Linked DNA regions of Homo sapiens: all the other regions are linked to region 3. Evidence: promoter capture Hi-C in human tissues and cell types (Jung and others, 2019). All regions are on one chromosome and are shown on one strand. The core of a region is centred on a gene start or on the middle of the fragment in contact, and the rest is flanking DNA. Distances in the headings are between cores, read along the strand shown. Region 1 has its middle 43 kb from the start of RERG. Region 2 has its middle 24 kb from the start of RERG-IT1. Region 3 holds the start of SMCO3 (single-pass membrane protein with coiled-coil domains 3).

Evidence for each region. Contacts are between HindIII fragments. The study calls those that stand out against the background at their distance.
Region 1: a contact is called between a fragment that was not itself captured here and the fragment with the promoter of SMCO3 in region 3, in 2 of the 25 tissues and cell types used here (dorsolateral prefrontal cortex and hippocampus).
Region 2: a contact is called between a fragment that was not itself captured here and the fragment with the promoter of SMCO3 in region 3, in 3 of the 25 tissues and cell types used here (aorta, mesenchymal stem cells and ovary).

Annotation. Positions count from the first base shown.
Region 1 is chr12:15,262,936-15,266,008 of GRCh38, reverse strand. No RefSeq gene overlaps it. Among named protein-coding and RNA genes, the nearest start is that of RERG, 43 kb to the right of the region's middle. The HindIII fragment of the contact is 7,678 bases long and covers 1-3,073 here.
Region 2 is chr12:15,089,050-15,092,276 of GRCh38, reverse strand. No RefSeq gene overlaps it. Among named protein-coding and RNA genes, the nearest start is that of RERG-IT1, 24 kb to the left of the region's middle. The HindIII fragment of the contact is 3,882 bases long and covers 1-3,227 here.
Region 3 is chr12:14,812,515-14,815,541 of GRCh38, reverse strand. SMCO3 (single-pass membrane protein with coiled-coil domains 3) reads left to right here and starts at 1,360. Exons shown (of 2, transcript NM_001013698.2): 1 at 1,360-1,416. All of the region lies in intron 1 of C12orf60 (chromosome 12 open reading frame 60), which reads right to left. The HindIII fragment of the contact is 14,769 bases long and covers 1-3,027 here.

The sequences.
Region 1 (3,073 bases), core at 534-3,033, 450 kb before region 3:
CCCCATGCTTGCTGCATCACACCTGCCAACATCTCCACAACATTCTGTACAAGCAGAAAAGATCCCTTTGTGTCAAGAAAGCAAAAGTTTTCCAAGCAGCCCTACCCAGCAGACTTCCACTTTTGTCTCTCCCCACTTCCATAGAGGCTCCTTAAGTTACTAGGGGGAAGAGAATTATGAGGAAGGGTTGGCTCAGGCATCACACAGAAGATTTTGGATTACCAAAAACCTCTGAAATTTAGAAAAAAAAAAGAGTGATCCTGAGGTAAAAATGCAATGATAAATTCCGAAAAGTATAATCCCATTTATATCCTTATCACTTCAGCAGAACCAGGAAATAGTTGCAGGCCTGCCCTCTCTAGAGCACTATGCCAAGTTGAGTGAGAGGCCAACTCCACAGAAGAGGGATAGTCTATAATCTGTCTCACAGAGGGATTCGTTCTTGAGGATGCATACTTTCACATGACAGTTTTTTAGAAGTAAATCAAGGTAACCACTGACATACTCATTCGCACTAAGTTGAATGTAGAAAATTTCTTCCTCAAGTTTTAGAGCAGACCTCATTTATGCACATTTTTGTATGAAAAAATATATACCTTAAAAGTATATAAAAAAGAAAAAGTATAATTGCACAAGCATGTCAAACAACGACTGGCACAAGGGGAGCAGATACTACTAATTCCTTACCAAATATCTATCTTCTTCTTTTTTCTTAAACAGAATCTTGTCATTGTTGCTGTTTTTACTCTTCTGGACTGTGCATTTAGAGGTAGGCAAGTGACAAATTTCTACCTAAAGATTGAAGCCATTGGGTGGGACTTCCCCAAATAGAAAACAAAGATTAGAATTTTTAAATTGTGAAATATAACTAGAGAAAAACAAATAATGTGCTGATTTGGTTTAACAAATAATCATAAAGCAAACACTTATGTAACCATCTGTATCATATTTTAAAAATTTTGTTTGTGATGGTCATCCGTATTGTTGTGCGTAGCTTTACTTTTTTTTCATTGCTGCAAGAAATACAGTTGGCCTTCAGTATTCATGAGACATTGGTTTCAGGACTGCCCATGGATAACAAAATCAGCACATACTCAAGTCTCACAGTTGGCCCTGCAGATATGAAAAGTTATACCTCCCTATATAAGGGTTTCACATTCTGTGAATATTGTACAGTATTTTTGATCCACGTGTGGATGTGGAACCTGCCCATACAGAGGTCCTACCGTTTTTACTGAAAAATAAAATTCCTATGTAAGTGGACCCATGCAGTTCAAACCTGTGTTGTTCAAGGATCAACTGTATACACTGATCTATTTATTTACTTTGCTATTGATAGATTTAGTTTGTTTCTCATTTAGCTTCTAATTACACGTTTGTGTATGTATCCTGGGTGACTAGAAATCATTATACACACTGATTAGTCACTAGGATATACACCTGACAGTAGAATTTCTGAATTAAGAAATAATGTATACATTTAACTTACCAGATGATATCAAGTTGTTCCAAACTGTTTGGAAAGTGGTTGTCAAAAGTAGTAGATGACAGGATAGTTCTATTGCTCTACATCCTCACCATTCATTGATATTTTTGTACTATTGCCAATCTGATCGGCGTGCAGAAATAGATTATTATTATTTTGATTTTTCTAATTACTAGCTTGGTCACATTTTCTTAGGTTAATTAACCATAAATTAGTTTGCTTGGGCTGCTGTAACAAAGACCACAAACTGGGTGGCTTAAACAGACACTTATTGTCTCACAGTTCTGGAGGCTGGAAGTCTGGGGCGCTAGCAGTGTTGGTTCCTTCTGTGGGTTGTGAGAATCTCTTCTGTGCCTCTTGCCTTGCTCCTGGTGGTTTGTTGGAAATCTTTTGTGCTTCTTGGTTTACAGATGCACCAGCCCAATCTCTGCCATGATGTCCACACGGCAATCTCCCTGTTGGTGTGTCTCTGTCCATATTTCCTCTTTTTATAAGGCAATGATCATATTGAGTTAGGAGCTCAGCTTACTTCAGTGTGATCTTGTCTTAACTAATTACGTAAGCAACAATCCTATTTGTAAATTTTATTGCATTCTGCAGTATTGGGGGCTAGCACTTCACTATGTGAATTTTTGAGAGACACAGTTTAATGCATTACAGGTTGCCTGGATCTCATCTTTTGTAAGGAAACCATTAAAGCCTTATTTACTCATTTTCTTTTAGGTGGTGGTGTATTTATTCTTGATTTGTAAGATTTCGCTGGTATACCAGATCTTTTTTCAAGATATATGTGTTGCAATCATAACCTCTCTTTCTATGGCTTATCTTTTCACTCTCATTAATATTGTTTTTATGAATGGGTTTTAAAAATTTGAATGTGTTTGAATTTTTTGATTTTTCCTTTTTACTTAGTGACTTTTGTATATTGTTTAAGAAATATTCTCCTACTCTACTTCATGGAGATATTTTCTTATCTCCTAAAGTTTTATAGATTTGTCTTTCACTTTCAGGCTCTTCATCTATCTGGAAATACCATTTAAATTTTTTTTTCAAGTGGTCATTTCACTGTCCCAGTTCTATTTGTTGAAGCTTGCCAATTACCCATTGGCACATTATGGTGTCTCTGTCATTTTGTGTCCATATATGTGAAGGCCTGTATTTGAACTCCTGATCTGTGTCACTAGTCTATGCTCCTTATCTCTGTGCTAAAAAAAAAAACACTGTCTTAATTACCATAGCTTCAAGCAAATTCTATTATCTGATAGATGACTTTTTTGTCTAATATGTCTTCTTCAAGAGGATCTTGCCTGTTCTTATCTCTTCTCATTTTTATGAGAATCTTATGAAATTTATAGATTAATTTTGATAAAATTTACATCTGAAAAATATTTTTTCCCATAAACATGGCATATCTTCCTTTTACTTTTGGTCTTTTTAATATTCTTCAATAAAATCATAATTTTCTCTATGGAGATTTTCACATATTTTATGAATTCCTAATATTTTTAGATTGTTTAATGCTATTGTAAGTGATACTTTTTTCCTAGTTATTTGTTTCTGTTAATAGAAATACAATTGATATATGTA
Region 2 (3,227 bases), core at 39-2,538, 280 kb before region 3:
AGTTTTGAGAGCCTTGACAAAAGCACCTGGGTAATTTGTGTAGCTCCTGGAGACGGGGTGAAACCAAATTTAAAATGAAGCTTCTTGACACCAATTTTATAATAATGTCTGTTTCATTAAAATGGTACAAAGAACTCAGGCCGCCATCATTCACCTGAATACCAAAATCTCCCTAATTAACTTAATGTTTTGTATTCCAGAACAGAGATTCCCTTTAAGTAACCTTGACATCAATTTGTCCAGATTCCTTTTATAGAGAGTCTCATGTAAACCAGGCAAAACGCATCTAAGGCATGAGGGGAAGGAGGTAGATATATTAATTTCTGATGCCTTCAAGGCAGCACCCCAAGAAATCAGCTCCTCCGAGCAGCCCGTAGATAGCTAAACTGCCAAACAACCTCAGTGATGTCAGAACAAGAATAGAAATAGAAGCGAGAGAAAACAAAGAAGCACTCTAGAGCTTATGAGAAGGGCAATCATGCCCAGAAATCTTGGTAATTTGAGCTATGGTCTGAGGATGTCAGGGGAAGAGTGAAGATTGTTGAAACCAGTATTGGGGAAGACATGGGGAAATAATTGCAAAGGTTATCTGAAGCTTTTTCCATCTCAAGTGTCCAGATTGTTCTGCATAATTGGAGAGATCTTGGATCTAGGCATGGATGAGTGACTCAAAGTCATTAAACCTAGAAAGTGATGAACATTTGGAAAGAGGTTTAGATTCAATGCTTACTAGTATGCAATAATGCAAAAAAAAAAATTACAACCACTTTATGGAAGTTCAAGGGACACAGAAATCTAAAAATTTTCAGCAAGCAAGTAATAGTATACATACATTAATTGTATATCCATTGCATATAGGATATTGTATGTAAAATATTATACTAAAGCTTGCTTTAAAAATCAACAAGAATATCTTTACTCAGTTTTAAATTTGTTTGATTTTTACAAACTTAATAAATACATATATTTGATCATCCAGTCTTATTGTTGTTACATAACGTCCTGAACTCGTTCAGGGAAAGCTCTTCTATCAGGAGAATTTTCAGGTACTTGAGCATCCTTCATGAGTCAAGAGGGAGTATACTTTATTTTCTCCCTTCACTACAGAGTCTTCTAAATATGTACTGCCTCTTCTTTGACAAACTCTTTTCTGTGGCACACAAGAAAACACAACATGTATTAGTCAGTACATTTTCAGTCGTAGCTGGCAGAAACTATCCGATCTGGCTTAAATGACTGGGAAGATCAAAGATAACGGCTTCAGGCGTGAATAGATGCAGGGATTTTTAAAGCACATCAGGATTTTCTCTTCTTTCTCAGGCCACAAAATAGAAAACAAACAAAACAAAACAAAACAAAAAAAACAGCTACTGGTCAACCTGGGGATAAGAGTTTTTGATGATATTTTCTACTGAAAAAAAACCTTCACAGACCTTGACTGTCCTGATGTGGGTATTAAGCCCATCCTTAAATCATTCACTGTGGCCAGAAGGTTGGATACTCTAGTTACTCAAGACCATGCTTGCTGCTAACCCCTCTGGCTGGAGGAAAAGTTCAGTCCCACCTAGAATGTGCAGTGGTTTCCCTGCAAGAAAGAGCAGTTCTAGTTCCAGGAAAATGCCGATCTAGCACTATTTGTTTTCTTTTGTTTAAATCATTGAAACAAACCAAATGGAGCTCCATGTGTAACTCCTAGTGTGCTGGCAGATGTGTTTCCCTTTGCTGCTATTATCCGAAGGTAAAAAGGGGATCATTTCTGGCTGAAGAACACAGCCTAGCCTAGTATTTTCCTCTCATTGCTGCTATTACCAGCTGATAGTAAGGACTTTCAGCTATCCATTCTTTGTGAATAGATTGGGGCACACTGGTATTTCCTGACCTGGAAAGAGATATCCCTATTGTATTTTTAGGGTTTCATGTCATTCAATAGCCAAGCTCAGCTGCCTTTAAATCTCTCCAGAGATTCATCCCAGGGTTCTTATGAACTCTCCTTTCTAACCTAAAGAAACCGCCTCAAGGGCTCATTCCTGGGTTACTCCAGTTCATAGCTCCTCTTCCATTTCCATTATTTCACCTCTAGAGAAATAAGCTTCTTTTAAGATCCTCTGTATGAATTTTCTTTGTTATCATTGGGTCTTTCTTTTTGTTTTTTGTCATTGTTGTTGTTGTTTTGTTTTTTGTTTTTTTTAATCAAAGCCGACTGTGTTTAGCTATCTGAATATTCTCTATGAGGAAATGATGCACAGCAGCTTTCCCATCCCACTCACTCTTGTCTTAAAATCACTTTTTACTTATAATTCACAACTCTGCACAAGCAGACTAGCTGTAAATTTTCTCTTTCTCCCATTCTAAGACATCTTATATCTGTCCAATGCTATAGTCAGGGATTCACAGTGTCATTTATAATTTAAAACATGCAGAGGTCAGGACCAGCCGGGGCAAAATGGTCAAATCCCATCTTTACCAAAAAACACAATAAATTAGCCACGTGTGGTGGTGTGCACCAGTAGTCCCAGCTATCTGGGAGGCTGAGGTGGGAAGATGGCTTGAGCTCAGCAGGAAGTCAAGGCTGCAGTAATCTGTGATCTTGCTACTGCCCTCCAGCCTGGGTGACCACAGAGTAAGACCCTTTCTAAACAAAAACAAAGACAAAAAAAATCCAGGCCTTTTGTTTTTGCTTTTTCATAAATAGAAGACTCTATATTCACATGTTAACCTAGGACCTATGTGGAAAATCGTTTCTACAAAGTTTATTTTTTCACAACTATTTTCATAACCAGTGAAATAGCCTGCTTTTGACTGTGCTATTACCTGTGCCAAGAACACTATGCACTTCATATCTGTCCCTTTATAGCCTTAAGTTTTTCTACTCAAGAGTCCATTTCCAGAAAACTATTTTAAGGAAACAAAATAATGCAGCAAATTCTTAACATCAAAGGTATTAATTGCACTGTTACTTCTCATAACAACAATAACAAAAATCAACTAAACCAAAAAGGAAGCCATTTATGTATTCGATAATAAGGGATGTTAAAAATTATACATAAATTTTATAGAGACTTTGCAATATTATCGACAAAGTTTCTAAAAACATGGGGAAGTGTTTATGACATTTTTTAAAAAGACAAGTGAGATACAAATTACACAGCTAAATCTCAAGTAAAACTATAAGAGGACAAAAATTGAAAGAGAATAAAATGGCAGAGTAGTTATCTTTTAGCAGATTA
Region 3 (3,027 bases), core at 111-2,610:
AAGGCTATCTACAAACTATTTTCAATTTTCCATGACTTACCTTCCCTTAACTGCTCCCACTTACACCCTGTATCACCAGCAGGTTGGTTTTTGTTCCCTGAAAATGTTCTACAATTTTTGGTTCAGCTCCTTTGCTCTCAGTGTTCCCTCTATCTGTATTATTTCCTCTATACCACCATCCTCCCCAAACATCTATTAAAATCCTACTTAACATCCATACCTAGTTCAGATACACTGGCCACACATCCGTACGTGGTGGGGCCCTGGATACATCAAGGGCAAGATGATCCACTGGGACAAAAGTAGAAAAGTGACCCCACTTAGCCCTTCTTTAGAATCACAGGGCAGCATCTTTAGATTTTAAAGTTTCCTGTCTGCCTGTCTGGCATTTTGATTCTGTATCCTGTACCCACCCATTCTCCTCTCCCCTCCACCAGGAGATACTGTTGTTAATATATGAATAGCTACCGTTTCATAAGATTTTGCCACATATCAGCCACTATGCCAATTACTTTATAAACACTATCCCATTTAATCCATAAATTATTAACTAATACTCATATTACACCAATGGGAAAACTCAGGCTAAGTGACTTTCTTAGGATTACATGACTAGTAAGTGGTACTTGGAGTACACAAAACCAGGACTGTCTGAGTGTAAAGCCTGCTGTCTTTCACTAAGTTACACTGGGGCTGAGTGATTTCCCTGCCACTCAGGTGTCTTTGCTGTGGAGGAATTAACGGGTCTGAAGACTGAAGCTGGGAAGAAGCAGCAGGGAAGACTGATCTGAGCTTTCAGGGAAAAGAGTGAAGTTGGACTTTAAGGTTTTTATATTGTCAAGACAATTTACAAACACAGGAAGAGAAAGAATGACAAAGAGGAGAACTCCTAGCTGGAAAGAAGAGAAAAAAAAATTGGATGCAAGTAACTGCATTTATATATCTTGAGAATTTAAATAATCAGCAACAGTTAGAGGTGCAAATGCAACAGAAGCTAAAAGAAACTTAGTATCTGGAATAGTTGACAAGATAAAACCCCAAAATCTGAGAGCTGCAATCAAAGAGCCATCTTCTCTACTAAATTGAATTAGCTCAGTTATATAGCGCTTCTCAACAATAAAAAGTCCATTAAAGAACAGAAATTTAAAAATAAGTTTTACACACTATTAGTCTTCCAGTTTATATAACTTAATACTGTATACTAAGTTTTTATTAATAGGAAATGAAGGAATTCTGAGGGCCAAGCCATGTAGAAATAGCCTATAAACCAGACAGGCAGAGGGACCCAGCAGAGACTAGCAAAGTCTGTAAGTCATCACATTCCATCAGAAATATCCAGATGAAACCAGATGAAAAAGCACTTTAACAATACTCCTAAACAACTGCTAGGACCACGGAACTCAGAAACACAGCAAGGTAAGCAACGTGGATATTTCTATTAGTATTGATATAATACTCTGTTTCTCAGTAGTAGGAGGAATTTGAATTAGCCCGTCAGTCTTGAATCCTAACCATAAATAAAATAAAGTAAAAAAACAGCTTTGTTATAAGAGGATCCCATGACATGTTCCTTGTGATTTGGAAGGAACCTTTCCTGGTGCCTTCTCTGAAGACAGCAGAGAAGGAAGAAAATTAACAATTTCTAGGACTGATTAAGTCAGAGTGGAAGAGAAGCAGTAAAGACATCAATTCTAAGAAGGATTAAGGATGAAATGATACCTGTGTGAATGTGTGAAGTTTACATGGATAGTAACATTTCCTTCTATGTCATTAATATTAATATAGGCACTCAGTACCTATCTATGAAAGAATGAATGTGGAATCTAATACTGGTTAATGTATAGTACTTATACTCCTTCATAAATTATGTTGTATCTAAATATCTCTGAGCATTTGCTGTGTGTCTCCAAACAGGCTGTTATCGTCTTGAGGGCAAGGAACATTGTCGTTTTCAAATGCCTCAAGGGACACAGTAGAGGCTTCACCAGTGAGCACTTGATAAATGCTGATGAATGACTTTAATATTCTTCTTTCTGGTCAGAAACATTTTTTAAATGAATTTATATCAGAAAGTATATCATCACATCATGATCAATTTTTGTTTTAATTAAAGGCCACAGATTTTTATTTGAATTAAAGGAGACTCAGAACTAGTTAGAAGCTGTTATTTTCTTCTGAAAAGCTCCTGATTTTACCTATACCCTATTTCCACACTCCCAGATAAGGAAACTGTGCATGATGGCAAAACCCTGTTTGGACAGTGAAGAAAAGTGACAGCAAGAAGAAATGTAAAACCTCAGAGAGCACTAACGACTAAACATCAGAGGTTTAGACAGGGTCACGTTTTTCTTTTTCTTTCTTTTTTATTTGTTATAAGAAAAGTTCAAACATACACAGAAGTAGAGACAATAATATAATAAACTCCCATGTACCCATAACTCAGCTTTAAAAATTATCAAAACAAGGCCAATCTTTTTTCCTCTATAACCCTACCCCACTATTCTTTCCAGATTATTTGTGAACAAATCTCTGAGACCATTTCATTTCATCTTAAATGTTTTCAGTATGTATTTCCAAATAGGCAAGAACTTCTCTTTTTGAAATTTAACCTTACTCTTCCCAAATCAACAATATTTAAACAGGACCATCTTTGACTGGGAAATATACCAGCACTATGCTCAGTATCTGGGTGACAGGATCATTCACAGTAAACCTCAGCAACACACAGTATAGTCAGGGAACAAACCTGTGTATGTACCTCCTGAATCTAAAATAAAAATTGTAAAAATTTTATAGCAGGATACCCAGTATCCTGCTATAAAAATTTATTTGGGGTAGCACAGTAAAAGCTTTTGGAATGCAATTTACGATACATATCAAAAGTAATAAAAATTTAATTCCCATTACTTATGCCACTAATTATGTAATTCTTCTAGGTACTTATGCTGAGGAAATAATCCAGATAATGGAGGAAAAAAAATCTGTGGGTATCAAAATGCTCATTAGAATATTAGTGATAGTGAAACA